2 separate regions of the Homo sapiens genome follow, and region 2 is linked to region 1. The links are contacts of gene promoters, found by promoter capture Hi-C in human tissues and cell types (Jung and others, 2019). All regions are on one chromosome and are shown on one strand. The core of a region is centred on a gene start or on the middle of the fragment in contact, and the rest is flanking DNA. Distances in the headings are between cores, read along the strand shown.

Evidence for each region. Contacts are between HindIII fragments. The study calls those that stand out against the background at their distance.
Region 2: a fragment that was not itself captured here is called in contact with the fragment with the promoter of URGCP-MRPS24 in region 1 in 1 of the 25 tissues and cell types used here (thymus).

Annotation. Positions count from the first base shown.
Region 1 is chr7:43,903,806-43,911,178 of GRCh38, forward strand. URGCP-MRPS24 (URGCP-MRPS24 readthrough) reads right to left here and starts at 2,791. Exons shown (of 7, transcript NM_001204871.2): 1 at 2,757-2,791. The coding sequence starts at 2,770. It overlaps URGCP (upregulator of cell proliferation), which reads right to left and starts at 2,791. Exons shown (of 6, transcript NM_001077663.3): 1 at 2,757-2,791. The coding sequence starts at 2,770. RefSeq lists silencers at 2,567-2,996, 3,057-3,216. The HindIII fragment of the contact is 12,880 bases long and covers 1-7,373 here.
Region 2 is chr7:43,572,006-43,579,378 of GRCh38, forward strand. No RefSeq gene overlaps it. Among named protein-coding and RNA genes, the nearest start is that of STK17A, 7.4 kb to the right of the region's middle. RefSeq lists a silencer at 545-624 and enhancers at 5,124-6,323, 5,455-5,956. The HindIII fragment of the contact is 9,039 bases long and covers 1-7,373 here.

The sequences.
Region 1 (7,373 bases), core at 1,541-4,040:
CAGACAACAGTTAAAGCCACTAAAACAGATGTGACCATGCAGAGAACATGTGTTGGGACTAGCGGAGATGGATTATAGAGCCCAAGGAAACCCCAACAGTGAAAGAGCAGGCAGAGGAGCTGGCAGACAAGGAAGATCTGGGCAGTTGTGAGACAGCCAAGCAAGGGGCAAAGACAAGAGATGAGCTGTTGAGTGAGGCCTGTTCGAAAGAGGGGAGATGGCAGCATGAGCTGCTCCCTGTCTTCTGCCCTCTCTGCCGTCTCTATACTGCTGTCACATTGATTCTCTGAGAGCTCCACCAATGCAAATAGTTTCATTTACCTTCAGCGAGTGGTGGGCAGTGAGTCCACAAACGGGACCAGGTCCCATCATCTGGTCCCAGTCTCATCCTCTGAACTTGTCTCCACTTAGCTCCAAACACACTGGGCCATGGGGCATTTCTCAAACACATCTTTTCCTTTGATGCCTTCATATCCTTTGATTGCCATTTCCTTTATTTAGCACAATGCCTGGCATATTCATAAGGTCCTCAAAAATGGTCAGCGTTTCTTCTTTCCTTCCCAACTCATGGAGATTGTCACTTAATAAAAACATCAATTTGGAGACTCCTCTATGACTAGCCCAGTCCAGATCACCAGTCCCTTCCCATCCCTGCCCTTTATCTGTGGACTTGCTCCCTAAGATACCTAGTGCAGTAGCTTAAATGTTTGCTAGCTGGCTGACTGAGATAGCCCTGAGGGTCTCAGAAAGCACTGTCTTCCTAGCTAGACTCTGATCTACCAGGGAAGCCTGTAGAAGTGGACACTTAGGAGCTATGTCTGCCAGTGTACATAATATGTGCATAGCTTACCCCACAAAATGAAATAAAGCAACAGTCATGAGTCACTTAACAACAGGGATACATTCTGAGAAATGTGTCATTTGGCAATTTGGTCCTTGTGTGAGCATCATAGGGCAAACTTACACAAACCTACATCGTAAGGTGTACTATGCACCTAGGCAATATGGTACAGCCTGTTGCTCTTAGGCTACAAACCTGTACAGCATGTTACAGTATGAATACTGTAGGCAACTAACACAATGATAAGTATTTGTGCATGGGACCACTGTCATATAACGTGGTCCTCCGCTGTCATTTTGTGGTGCATGACTTGTATACTAAAGGTTTTGAGACCTCAGCTTTTGCAATGGATATCCCGCAGAAAATTATAGATTACAAACTGCAGACTCATGGGGGTCACACAAATAATCACAACCGCAAATACCAAATGTCACCAACTACAGGGACACAGTTTAAGCCCTACTGGCTCACAGAAACACCAGTGAAGCATTAAGTCCACCTCTGACCCATGTCTACAAAGTAGTGTACTTGGGCACCAAATGCACCACTATTTTTTTTTTTTTTAAAGCTTCGTTCAGGGCAGCCCCACACAGGTTCAGCCACCCTCAACATTGCCTCCAGGAGGCTCTGCCCACCCTTTCCTGACAAGGGGGAAAGGAATGCTGCAGGACCTTGAACCCCTAGGTCAATCAGCCTGGCCTTCCCAGGGATGGTTCCCTGCTTACTCTATTCATGAGCTCAAAGTGCTGGGTAGTCAGCTGGCAATGAAAAGGCCTGGTCCCGGAAATGACCACTGCCCCAAAGCCTAGAAAGACAGCAGGCGGGGTTCAAATTCAGCTTGCTTCATTCAGGCCCACTGTACTGAGCCAAATCACCCCAGGGCATGGCTCAGGCCTCATCTGGAGGAGGCACGAAATCCATGATCCCGGCCCCTTAGCACCGTCCCCTCCCCACCCCTACCACTGAACACACACCTGTAAAGCTCTTTGGGAACTGTTCTGAATGGCTATCACAGCCACTAGATCCAAGACCCTCTGAATGATGGGTAACAGTCAAAGAAGAATTTTAACAACTAAAGCGATGACCTTGAGCCTAATTTCTTTCTTTGTAAAATGAAAGTGTTGGACTGTCATTCCCAAATTTCAGTACTAGTAAAATTATCAAAACAAAAAACAAAAAAATAATGAATTACTGAGGTTTTAGTTTGCCAAGTGAGAATTTTTTCTCAAAAATTACAAACTATATGTGTCGCCATCATTTCCTAAAAGGAATAACATTTAAATCAAAAAAGTTGAAAAGAGGTAATATCAAAATAAGCGCAGCCACCCCAAGGCAGGCCGGTAGGCAATGGCCCCGACCAAGGAGATCCCGGAGCGGCTCTCCGGCTGTCAGCAAAGGGTCTGCATCTGCCCGGATCCTGACATTCTGGGTACGTCTCAACGACGCGGCAAACAAGCGTCCACTCCCAACGCGAGCAAGTTTAAAACCCAGGAACATCGATACCAGGCGCCGGAGCGAAGCATTTCCAGGCCTCCGCGGGTTGCCCCGGGCCGCGGCGAGGACCCGCACCCCGGTTCCCCAGCCGCTCGCCGGGCCCTCGCTCCCGCCGCGCCCCGGGCACCTCCGGGCCTCGCGCCCTCCCCGGATCCCCTAGGCCCGCGTACCCGGACCCCCGCATCCCGGGGGACCGCTGTCCTCCGCCGGCGCCCCCGCCCGCCCCCCACGCCCGCGCGGCCGGTCCGCCCAAGGTCGGCGCGAGCGGGCCGTGGGCCTGGTGGGCCTGGCGGGCGGGGGCGCCCCTGGCCGGGTCCGGGCCGCATCCCAGACCAGAGCCCGCAGGCCAGAGCCGCTCCGGGTCCCGCTCCCGTTCCTGCCGGCAGCCGCGGGGGCGCAGGGCCTGCGAGGCGGCACTCACCCGGGCGACGCCATGAGCGCAGCGAGGTCTCCGCTCCCGCCTCCTTCGCTTCCTCCGCGCGGCCGCGGCTCGGCGCCGGGGAGGGGCCTGGCCCGCCGGCCGCCCGCCCGCTCCGGGACGCGCTCCAGGGGTGGAGGTGGGGTGAGGTGGGGTAAGGTGGGCCCGGGGTCCTCTCGGAGCAGCCCGGGGACAGCTGGGGCGGGGTGGGGGCGGGGCGGCCCAGGTCAGCCCGCAGCCCGCCCAACGCCCACCTGCCCAGGTGCCTGGAGGCCGGAACTCGCCGGGCGGTGCCTGCGGTGCCAAAAGCTGTAGGATAACCTGCCCCAGGGCCTTACTGAACTTCACACCTTTCTGTAATTGGAGTTTAATTTCTGTAAGAAAAGGCTTTTCTTTAGCCCTGAAGCGTAAGGCCTTATTATTAAGCAAAACAATAACTTTCCTACTTCTTACTTGCAGTGCTGTGTTGGACGAGTTGCTGGCCTCTCTGAGACGGTACCCATTGTAAAATGTGTATAAAGTGGCCTTGTGAAGCTCTAGGCAATGCGAAGCACTTTTATTATTCTTTATAGTGTGTTATTAAGAAAAATAATGAATCTGCAGTTCCTCCAGTGAGGTTTCACAACTATTCTTACAAGTTATGAGTCCTTAGGCAGGTAGATTTTTCAGCTTCAGTTCTTCTCTCTGCAAAATGAGTTTCCAAAAATGATCTAAGTGAAAATGCTTAATAAAAAGCTCTGGACAATGTAAACCATTGTTGATAACATTTTTAGTATTATATTAAATATCACTGGCCGAACGCAGTGGCTCACGTCTGTAATCCCACCACTTTGGGAGGCCGAGGCAGGAGGATCGATTGAGCCCAGGAGTTTGAGATCAGCCTGGGCAACATATTGAGATGACCCCCTGCCCGCCCCGCCCGTTTCATTTTTAAAAATAAAATTAAAGTTAAAAGTAAAATATCATTAACAACCACTATTTAAAAATGTTTACTACTATTAAGAATACAAGACAGCAAAGCAGTGATTAAAACCTTAGCTCTGAAGCCAGAATACCTGTGTTGGAATCTGGGCTCCACCAATTACCAGCCCCAGGAGCCCCTGCAAGATAGAACCTTTCCAGGGCCACAGTTCCTTATTTGAAAAATAAGGCTAAAAATAAGTCCCTTCCTCTCTGTGAAGATTAAATGAATTAATATTTGTAAACATTTGTAACTATTTTTAAATGTTAGTAAACATTGCGTGATGCATGGTCTCTTTTCCTCCTGGGAGAATCCAGTCAATGTTTCTGAGCCTCCTTGTCCTCTTCGGTAAAGAAATTCATAACTGCTACCTTGAGTTCAGAAGATAATTAATGCTCTGTAAATGGGAGCTGATAGGTAAAGCCACGCGAACTTGTGACACCCAAAATAAGGACAAATCCAGGAGGACCAGAGTTAGGAAGAGTTTGAGGAATGGGAAATCCTAAATCCTAAATGCCTGATTCAAGGGAGTAATGAAATGAAGGAGATCAAACTAAAAGAATTTTTTCTTTGTTTGTTTGAGACAGGGTCTTGCCCTGTCACCCAGGCCAGAGTGCAATGGCGAGATCTTGGCTCACTGCAACCTCCACTTCCCGGGTTCAAGCAATTCTGCCTCAGCCTCCCAGTAGCTGGGACTACAGGCGCCCACTACCACACCTGGCTAATTCTTCTATTTTTAGTAGAGACAGGGTTTCCCCATGTTGGTCAGGCTGGTCTCAAACTCCCAACCTCAGGTGATCTGCCTGCCTCAGCCTCCCAAAGTGCTGGGGTTACAGGCGTGAGCCACCATGCCTGGCCTAAATAAGCATTCTTTTAAACATAAGGAATACATGTTTACTGACATAAAATCTGGTTCAGAAACCAATAACCCCAAAATATGGCACTTTAACAAGCTGAACTGAAGAAGTCTCAAGGTCTCTCTGATCTCCCTCCCCACTGGTTTCTCCCAAAACAGAAAATGTCTTTATCTGCTTAAAGTCCAGACCCTCCAAGGAGAACAACTGTTTTTCTTGCCCTCCCTGTAAGACCAAGAATGTAACCACACCTGAAAAGACCCTTTCATAGGATAGCGTACAAGTTAATCTCTGTGCCCTGATCCATTCCTTCTCCCTAGTAATCCTTTATTGCCCCTTGAAAGAATTCCTCTTTCTCCCCTCCTGTAAGTTGTTTTGCCAAGATGGTCTACAAGCTTCTGAACCTTGTTGGGTGGTGGGAAATCATTCTGTAATTCTCCCTGTGCACACATTCATAAAATTTGTATGCCTTTTCTTCAATTAATCTGCTTTTTGTGAGTTGATTTTTCAGTAAATCTTCAGAGGGCAAGGAGAAACTTTCCCGTGGCCCGTACACTTAACATGAATTTTAGCATCCCACTATATGGTTAGACCATCATGTTTAACCAACCCCTACTGTTGGACATAAATATTGCTACCAGTATTTCATTATTATAAGGAATGTGAGTAATAAATATCCTTATAGCCAAAACATCCCATAAACATCAATGATTATTTCCTTATGCCAAATTTTGAAGAGTTGAATTTCTAGATCAATAGGATATCAGTATTTTAAGGCTCTTCTGAAACATATATACTCTGTGTATGTGTATGTGTATACCTACACACATACACAAACACACTAATATACATATACTTAAATACATAATACACATACACACATATGTATACATATACCTACACACATATATACAGACACACAAATATACACATACACAACATATACACACATATATACAGATTGCCTTCCCAGCACAATCACCTGATAGTCCTAGTTTTCCAAAACACTGTGTAACTTTTACAATTTTTCAAAATCATTGCCAACTTCATAGGTTAAAAACCAGTATTTTAGGCCAGGTACGGTGGCTCATGCCTGTAATCCCAGCACTTTGGGAGGCCGAGGCGGGTGGATCACTTGAGGTCAGAAGTTTGAGACAGCCTGGCCAACATGGTGAAACTCCATCTCTACTAAAAATACAAAAATTAGCTGGGTGTGGTGGCGTGTGCCTGTAGTCCCAGCTACTAAGGAGGCTGAGGCAGGAGAATTGCTTGAACCCAGGAGGTGGAGGCTGCAGTGACTGCAGCCACTGCACTCTAGCCTGGGTGACAGACTATCTCAAAAATAAAAATAAAAAATAATTTAAAAAATAATAATAATAAATAAAATTGGCCAGTGCTGTGCCTCACGCCTGTAATCCCAGCACTTTGGGAGGCTGAGATGGGTGGATCACTTGAGGCCAGGAGTTCAAGACCAGCCTGGCCAACATGGAGAAACCCTGTTCTCTACTAAAAATACAAAATTAGCCGGGCGTGGTGGCACATGCCTGTAATCCCAACTACTCGGGAAGCTGAGGCAGGAGAATTGCTTGAACCCGGGAGGCAGAGGTTGTGGTGAGCCAAGATCGTGCCATTGCACTCCAGCCTGGGCAACAAGAGCCAAACTCTATCTCAAAAAAAATAAAAGACACCCTGTTACAAGAGACATATAAGAAAATTGTAGGCTGGGCATTGTGGCTCACACCTATAATCTCAGCACTTTGGGAGGCCAAGGCAGAAAGATCACTTGAGGCCAGGAGTTCAAGACCAGCCTGGGCAACATGGTGAGAACTGATCTATTTATTTGTTTATTCATTTATTTATGAGACACGGTCTCACTCTGTTGCCCAGGCTGAAGTGCAGTGATGCAGTCATGGCCCACTGCAGCCTCAACTTCCCAGCTCAAAGTGATTCTCCCATCTCAAACTCCTAAGTAGCTGGGACTACAGGCATGTGCCACCATGTCTGGCTAATTTTTTTTTTTTTTTTTTTTTTTTTTTTGTAGAGACAGGATTTCCCCATGTTGTCCAGGCTGGTCTCAAACTTCTGGGCTGAAGCAATAACCTGCCTCAGCCTCCCATAGTGCTGGTATTACAGATGTGAGCCACCATGCCTGGTCCCATCTTTTTATTAAAAATTTACACTAAAATTTTTTTTCAAAAAGTCCTGACATGGTGGCTCACACCTTTAATCCCAGCACTTTTAGAGGCTGAGGTGGGAGGATCACTTGAGCCCAGGAGTTTGAGATCAGCCTGGGAAACATAGTAAGACCTTGTCTTTACAAATAATAAACACAATTAGCCAGGTGTGGTAATGCATACCTGTAGTCCCAGCTACTCAGGAGGCTGAGATGGTAGGATCTCTTGAGCCTGGGAGGCTGAAGCCACAGTGAGCCAAGATTTCACCACTGCACTCCAGCCTGGGTGACACAGCAAGACTCTTTCTCATAAAAATAAATAAATAAAAAGAACATTACATATTGATAAGAGTCAATTCACTAAGAAGACATAACAATGATAAACATGTATGCACCAAACAAAAGATCCCCAAAAAATATGAAGCTAACATTGACAGAATTAAAGAGAAAAAATACAGACTTCTACAATAAAAGTTGGAAACTTCAATACCCCACTTTCAATAATAGTACAATCAGACAGGAGAACCATAAGAAAATAGACAGCCTGAACAGCACTATAAATAAACTGGACCAGCCAGTCACGGTAGCTCACACCTGTAATCCCAGCACTTTGTGAAGCCAAGGCAGGTGGA
Region 2 (7,373 bases), core at 2,176-4,675, 330 kb before region 1:
AAGATTGCGCCATTGCACTCCAGCCTGGGCGACAGTGCGAGACTCTGTCTCAAAAAAAGAAAAAAAAAAAAAAAAGCCGGGCGTGGTGGCTCACGCCTGTAATCCCAGCACTTTGGGAGGCCAAGGCGGGCGGATTGCCTGAGGTCAGGAGTTCGAGACCAGCCTGGCCAACATGGCGAAACCCCGTCTCTACTAAAAATGCAAAAATTAGCCAGGCATGGTGGTGTGTGCCTGTAATCCCAGCTACCCAGGAGACTGAGGCAGGAGAATCACTGGAACCCAGGAGGCAGAGGCTGCAGCGAGCTGAGATTGTGCCACTGCACTGCAGCCTGGGTGACAGCAAGACTCCATCTCAAAAAAAAAAAAAAAATATATATATATATTGTTTTTAATGTAATATACAGTGAAGCTAAGAAGCTAGCAATAAAAAGAAACCTACAGCTACAGTGGTTAGTAAGAATTGGTTAAACACTTTAAGGACATGGGTTTTCTTCTGGGTCAGGACTTGAGCCCTCAGTCTTCTTATAGAGCAAGGAACTGAAAATGAACTCTTGGCATTGAACCTGAAATTGGGAAAGTGCTGACTTCTTCATGACTGGGTTGTAAAAACCTCCTCTGCTGGCACAGAGCAGGCAATAAGTTGTTTGATGGAGGAAGTGGTGTGAACCACAGATCCTGAATCCTGACTCATGGCTCATGACAGTGCAGAACACAAATTCACGTCATCCAAATGCTTCAGAACCCCCAAGCTCCATTGAGAAATTAAGCCAGAAATTTGTCTCCCAATCAACAAGCTCTGTAGTCAGGGCAGAGGCCATTTAGAAACCACATCATAGAGATTCTTTCCCAACTCAGACCCTATTTGAAACATTTAAAAATACAAAGTTACAGTTAAAATAGGAGCTCATCATCAAAAAAGTATAAAATATATAAGGAACTCCATTACTAGGAAAGAAAATCCACAGATGGAATGAGCCAATGGAACTTGAAATAGTACTGCATTCTAAAAAAGCCACAACATAACTACTTTTAAATGTCCAAGTCGATGAAGAAAGATTCAAATATATGAATCAGGGATGAAAGATTATAAACCATGAAAAGGCAGGTTTGAGAAGAACAGTTTCTTTTTACTTTTTTTTTTTTTTTGAGACAGAGTCTTACTCTGTCGCCCAAGCTGGAGTGCAGTGGTGTGATCTCCACTCACTGCAACCTCCGCCTCCTGGGTTAGAGCAATTCTCCTGCCTCAGCCTCCCGAGTAGCTGGGATTACAGACGCCCACCACCACGCCCAGCTAATTATTTTGTAGTTGTAGTAGAGACAGGATTTCACCATGTTGACCAGGCCGGTCTCGAACTCCTGAGCTCAAGCCATCTGCCCACCTCAGCCTCCCAAAGTGTTGGGATTACAAGCATGAGCTACCATGCTCGGCCTACTTTTTTGTTTGTTTGTTTGCTAAAACAAGTCCCTTGAAGCCTGTAAGTATTTAACACGAATGAGAATGTTGGCAGCTTACAGCACTTGAAAGACCTAGCTTCTAAAAATAAGTGAATCTATCTTTTTCATATATATATATATTTACAAAGTATACTTTTATTATAATTGTATGTTTAAAAATATTGCCCAGTTGATTTTTTTTAGATTAAACTTCTGTCAGATTGACCTAAGAAAACTGATTTTCTACCCTAAAAATCTTTTTCAAAAGGTTGATATGTAAGTGCCAGGCACGGTGGCTCACGCCTGTAATCCCAGAACTTTGGGAGGCCAAGGAAGGCGGATCACCTGAGGTGGGGAGTTCGAGACCAGCCTGACCAACATGGGGAAGCCCCATCTCTACTAAAAATACAAAATTAGCTGGGCATGGTGGTGCATGCTTGTAATCCCAGCTACTTGGGAGGCTGAGGAAGGAGCATAGCTTGAACCCAGGAGGCGGAGGTTGCAGTGAGCTGAGATCACACTATTGCACTCCAGCCTGGGCAACAAAAGAGAAACTCCATCTCAAAAAAAAAAAAGTATTGCATAATAACCTATCAGGTAAATATATCAAAATTCATTTAACCATTATCTTACTCGGATAGTAAGAGCATTGCATACTCAATTCAACCACATCTATTCATCAATATTTACAAAGTGTCACTTATACACACTGAGGATATAGAATAAATGGTCCCTTCTGATCTAACTAGGAAGAAAGAAAGTATACACTTATAATGCAATTTGATAAAGATAAACTCAGGTTGATATTAAAACAGGTGGGCCAGGTAAGAATATCTGATAAAATCAGGTATAGCGCTCTATACAGAAAAACACAGATCAGAACAACACAAGGAAACAAAAAGCACTTGGGTTTTTATCTTTCCAGTCTTTCTCCCCATTATCACTAACAATGGGCATTGAATTACCCTAAAAATCTTTGCCAATTTTATTGGCAAAAATGAAACCCCATTTATATTTCTCCAGGAAATATAAATTAAATTTGAACATTTCACTATAAAAAAATCTTTTATTTTCTTTGACCTCTTTCTAATATAGTGTTGGCACACCTCTTATTATATGTTCTTCATTTAGGGTATGATTTTTATCTATAATGCTTTTTGCTAATGTATTTCCAGCTTGTTTGCCTTCTAACTTTGCATATAACATTTTTTGATATGCAATGATTTTTGAATTATTAGGTAGTCAAATATTTTTCTTGGAGTTTTTTTCCACTGCTTTATTTCTTAGAAGTTACTTTTTCTTTCAGAAATCAGCTAATTGTCAAGGCCAGGCAAAGTGACTAATGCCTGTAATTCCAGCACTTTGGGAGGCCAAGGAGGATGGATCATTTGAGGCCAGGAGTTCAAGACCAACCTAGCCAACATGGCAAAAACCTGTCTCTACTAAAAATACAAAAATTAGCCAAGCATGGTGGCACATGCCTGTAATCCCAGCTACTCGGGAGGCCGAGGCAAGAGAATCGCTTCAATCCAGGAGGCAGAGGTTGCAGTGAGCCGAGCTGGCACCACTCCACTCCAGTCTGGGCAACAGTGAGACCCCGTGTCAAAAAAACAACAAAAAAAGAAAAAGTCAGCTAATTGTTATGTGTCATTTCTTTCTAGATTTTGTAGTTTTTGTTTGTTTGTTTTACATTTAATGATTTAGAAGATTTGGGGCTTATTGTGGTTTCTTAAATATTATAACTCTATTTCAAAACTATTCTGCTATGTTGAGCTATCTTATTTCATACTGTATTTTAATATGTTAGGACAGTTCTCTCCTTACGACTTTCTTTTGCAAAAATTTTCTAGCTACACTCATTTGGATATTCTTCATGATGAACTCTGAGATAATTTTAACACATTCCAAAAGACATATTTTTGAGACTTATTAGAATTTTGTTAAAGATACTGATTTATTTCCAAAGAATTACAGAATCTAATCTTTTCATCTATGTATCTCTATTGAAGCATTTGTTTATGTCTCTTAGAATAGATACATTCTTTAAAATAAAATATAAGCTTTGTGCATTTTTGTGAGGGTCGTTTCTGCATGCTTTATTTTCATTTTATTCAAATGGAATAGTTCCCCATTAGCTTTCATATCTCATTGTTATTATGTAGGAATGCTATTGATTTATTTTTATTAAACCTAATTGTCTTTTAAAATATATTAATTTTAATATTTTTCAGTTGATTCTTTTTTATTACATTTTACTTATTTATTTATTTTCTTTTATTTTAAAATTTTCTTTTTTGAGATGGGGTCTCATGCTGTCACCCAGGCTGGAGTGCAGTGGCACTATCCTGGCTCACTGCAACCTACACCTCCCGGGTTTAAGCGATTCTTATGCCTCAGCCTCCCGAGTAGCTGGAATTACAGATGCCCGCCACCATGCCCGGCTAATTTTTGTATTTTTAGTAGAGACGGGGTTTCACCATGTTGATCAGGCTGGTCTTGAACTCCTGACCTCAAGCAATCCACCCACCTCGGCCTCCCTCCCAAAGTGGTGGGATTACAGGCATGAGCCATCACACCCAGCCCTTTTTTATTACATTTTAAAATAGCATTAATAGAAACAAGGTTTCACTATGTTGCCCAGGCTGGTTTCAAACTCCTAAGCTCAAGCGATCTTCCCACCTCGGTCTCCCAAAGTGTTAGGATTACAGGCATGAGCCCGGTCCAGTTTATTCTTTTGGATATTCTAGAAGTAGAATATAGAATTCTCTACATTTAACAATTGTGACTATTCCTTCATGACCATTTAAATTCTTCCTTTCCAATATTAATGCCAGAGTGTCTTACTGCACTATTTAGGTTCTCAACTGCAACACTGAATAAGAGTCGTGATAGCACGTAACTTTGCTGTGCCTCTGACTTCAACGATAATACTTCTGTAGGTTTTTTAGAGATGTATCTTCTTAAGTTTAGGAAATTCCCTTCTATTTTAATCAGTCATGAGTGGGTATTGAATATTATGCAATGTTTTTTCCCAGCATTTTCTGTCAACATAGATGAGAAGTAAATTGGCCAATTTCCACTTATTTGTGATTGTGGCTTTTGGTTGTGGTTGTTTTATATCAAAATAATAGATGACATTTGGTTTCTTCCTTAATTCCACTATGATGATAGGGCATACTCTATAGAATTTCAGTCCTTTAAAATTGTTGAAAAGTGCTTTACGACCCACTACATAATCAATAAATATTCTTTTTGCAGCAAAATAATATATATTCTGTAGTGTTGTATGTGTATCATGTCAATTTTGTTCATTGTGTTGTTCAATGCTTCTATGTCCTTTCTATTTTTTTCCCTGCTTGTTCTATCAGTTACAGAGAGGAATGTGTTAAAAATCTCAGGTTGTGATGGTAGATTTGTGTATTTCTCCTTTTAGTTCTGTCATTTTGCTTCGTATATTTCAATACTATCTTTTAAAGATAGCATTGAATTGATTCTTTTTTCACTAATGCATTTTATCTCTTATAATACTTCTTGCCTTAACATCTACTTTGTCTAATATTTTTATAGGTACAACCAATTTTCTATTAGGCACAATAGGCATACATAACCCAGAGATATTGCAGATTCAGTTCCAGACTACTGCAGTAATAATATCATAATAAAGCAAGTCACACAAATTTTTTGGTTTCCCAGTGCATATATAAGTTATGTCTACACTATTCTATGGTCTATTAAGTGAGCAATAGCATTATGTCTAGAAAAACAATGTACATACATTGTACATTTTAAATGAATGTATATGCGAAACAACATACATTAATTTTAAAATACTATATTGCTAAAAAGTGCTATTGATCATCTCAGCCTTCAGTAAGTTGTAATTTTTTTGCTGGTGAGGGGTCTTGCCTCCATGCTGATGGCAACTGACTGATCAAGGTGGTGGTAGCTGAAGGTTAGGGTGGCTGTAGCAATTTCTTAATATAAGACAAAGATGATGTTTGCCACATTGATTGACCCTTTCTTTCACAAAAGATTCCTCTGTAGCATGCAATGCTGTTTGATAGCATTTTACCCACACAGTAGTGATGCAGGATTTTTTTGCTCCTTATCTAGGCTCCTTAGCCAGGCTCCTCCCCTGCATAAGACACGAATTCCTGGTGGCTCCACCCCATTCCCCCAGTGCTTGTGGGCCTCCAGTTCACTGCGGGCATGCTCAGGCAAGTCCCCTGTGCAGGTTCCCTTATCTGCACAAAACATCTGATGTAAACACTTGTGGGGCGAGTTGGAGATTCTCCGGGGACCCTTCCCTATCTGCCTAGGCCTTTGTCTGCCTCTTGCCTCTATCAGTAGGACTTCCTTCAAAATTGGAATCAAAATTGCCACCATTTTATCAACTAAGTTTATGTAATATTCTAAATCGTTTGTTGTCATTTCAACAGTGTTTACGGCATCTTCAACAGGAGTAGATTCCATCTCAGGAAACCACTTTCTTTGCTCATCTATAACAAGCATCTTCCACTGATGTCTTGAGCCCCTCAAAGTCATCCATGAGGATTGGAATCAACTTCCTCAAATTCCTGTTAATGTTGATATTTTTAACTCCTCCCATGAACCATGAATTCTCTTAATGACATCTAAAATGGTCAGAAGATTTTCAATTGACTTTGCCCAGATCCATCAGAAGATTCACTATCTATGGCAGCTACAGCCTTACAAAATATATTTCTGAAGTAACAAGACTTGGAAGTCAAAATTACTCCTTGTTCCATGGACAGCAGAATGGATGTTGTGTTAGCAGGCATGAAAACAATATTCATCTCCTTGCACATTTCCATCAGAGCTCTTGGGTTGTTGGTACATTGTCAATGAGCAGTAATATTTTGAAAGGAATCTATTTTTTTTTTCTGAGCACTAGGTCTCCAGACTGGGCTTAAAATGTTCAGTAGACTATGTTGTAAATACATGTGCTGTCATCCAGCCTTTGTTTTTCGATTTCTAGAGCATAGGCAGAGTAGATTTGGCATAATTCTTAAAGGCCCTAGAATTTTTAGAGTGGTCAAAGAGCATCGGCTTCACCTTAGAGTCATGAGCTGCATTAGCCCCTAACAAGGGAGTCAGCCTGTCCTTTGAAGCTTTGAAGCCAAGCCTGGACTTTTACTCTCTAACTCTGAGTCTTAGATGACATCTTCTTCCAATAGAAAGTCATTTAATCTACACTGAAAACCTGTTGTTTCATATAGCTCTCTTCATCAATTACTTGAGCTAGATCTTCTAAATAAATTCCTGCAGCTTCTACATCAGCACTTACTACTTCACCTTGAACTTTTATGTTATGCAGATAGTCTCTTTCCTTAAATCTCATGAATCAACCTCTGCTAACTTCAAACTTTTCTTTGGCAGCTGCCTAACCTCTCTCAGCCTTCAGAGAATTGAAGAGAGGTAAAGCCTTGCTCTGGATTAGGCTTTGGCTTAAGGGAATCTTGTGGCTGGTTTGATCTTCTATCCAGACCACTCAAACTTTCTCCATATCAGCAAGAAGGCTGTTTCACTATTTTTATCATTCCTATGTTCACTGGGGTAGTATTTTTAATATGTTCACTGGGGTAGTATTTTTAATTCCCTTCCAGAACTTTTCCTTTGTATTCACAATTTGGCTAACTGGCTCAAGAGGCCTAGCTTTCAGCCCATCTTGGCTTTCTACATGCCTTCCTCACTAAGCTTAACCATTTTGAGCTTTTATTTCAAGTAAAAGACATGGGAATCTTCCTTTCACTTGAACACTTAGAGGCTGTTTTAGGGTTTTTAATTGGTCTATTTCAATATTGTTGTGTTTCAGAGAATAGGGAGGCCTGAGGAGAGGAAGAGAAATGGGGGGCTGATTGGTGGAGCAGTTAGATCACACACATTTATCAATTAACTTTGCATGAGTGCAATTCATG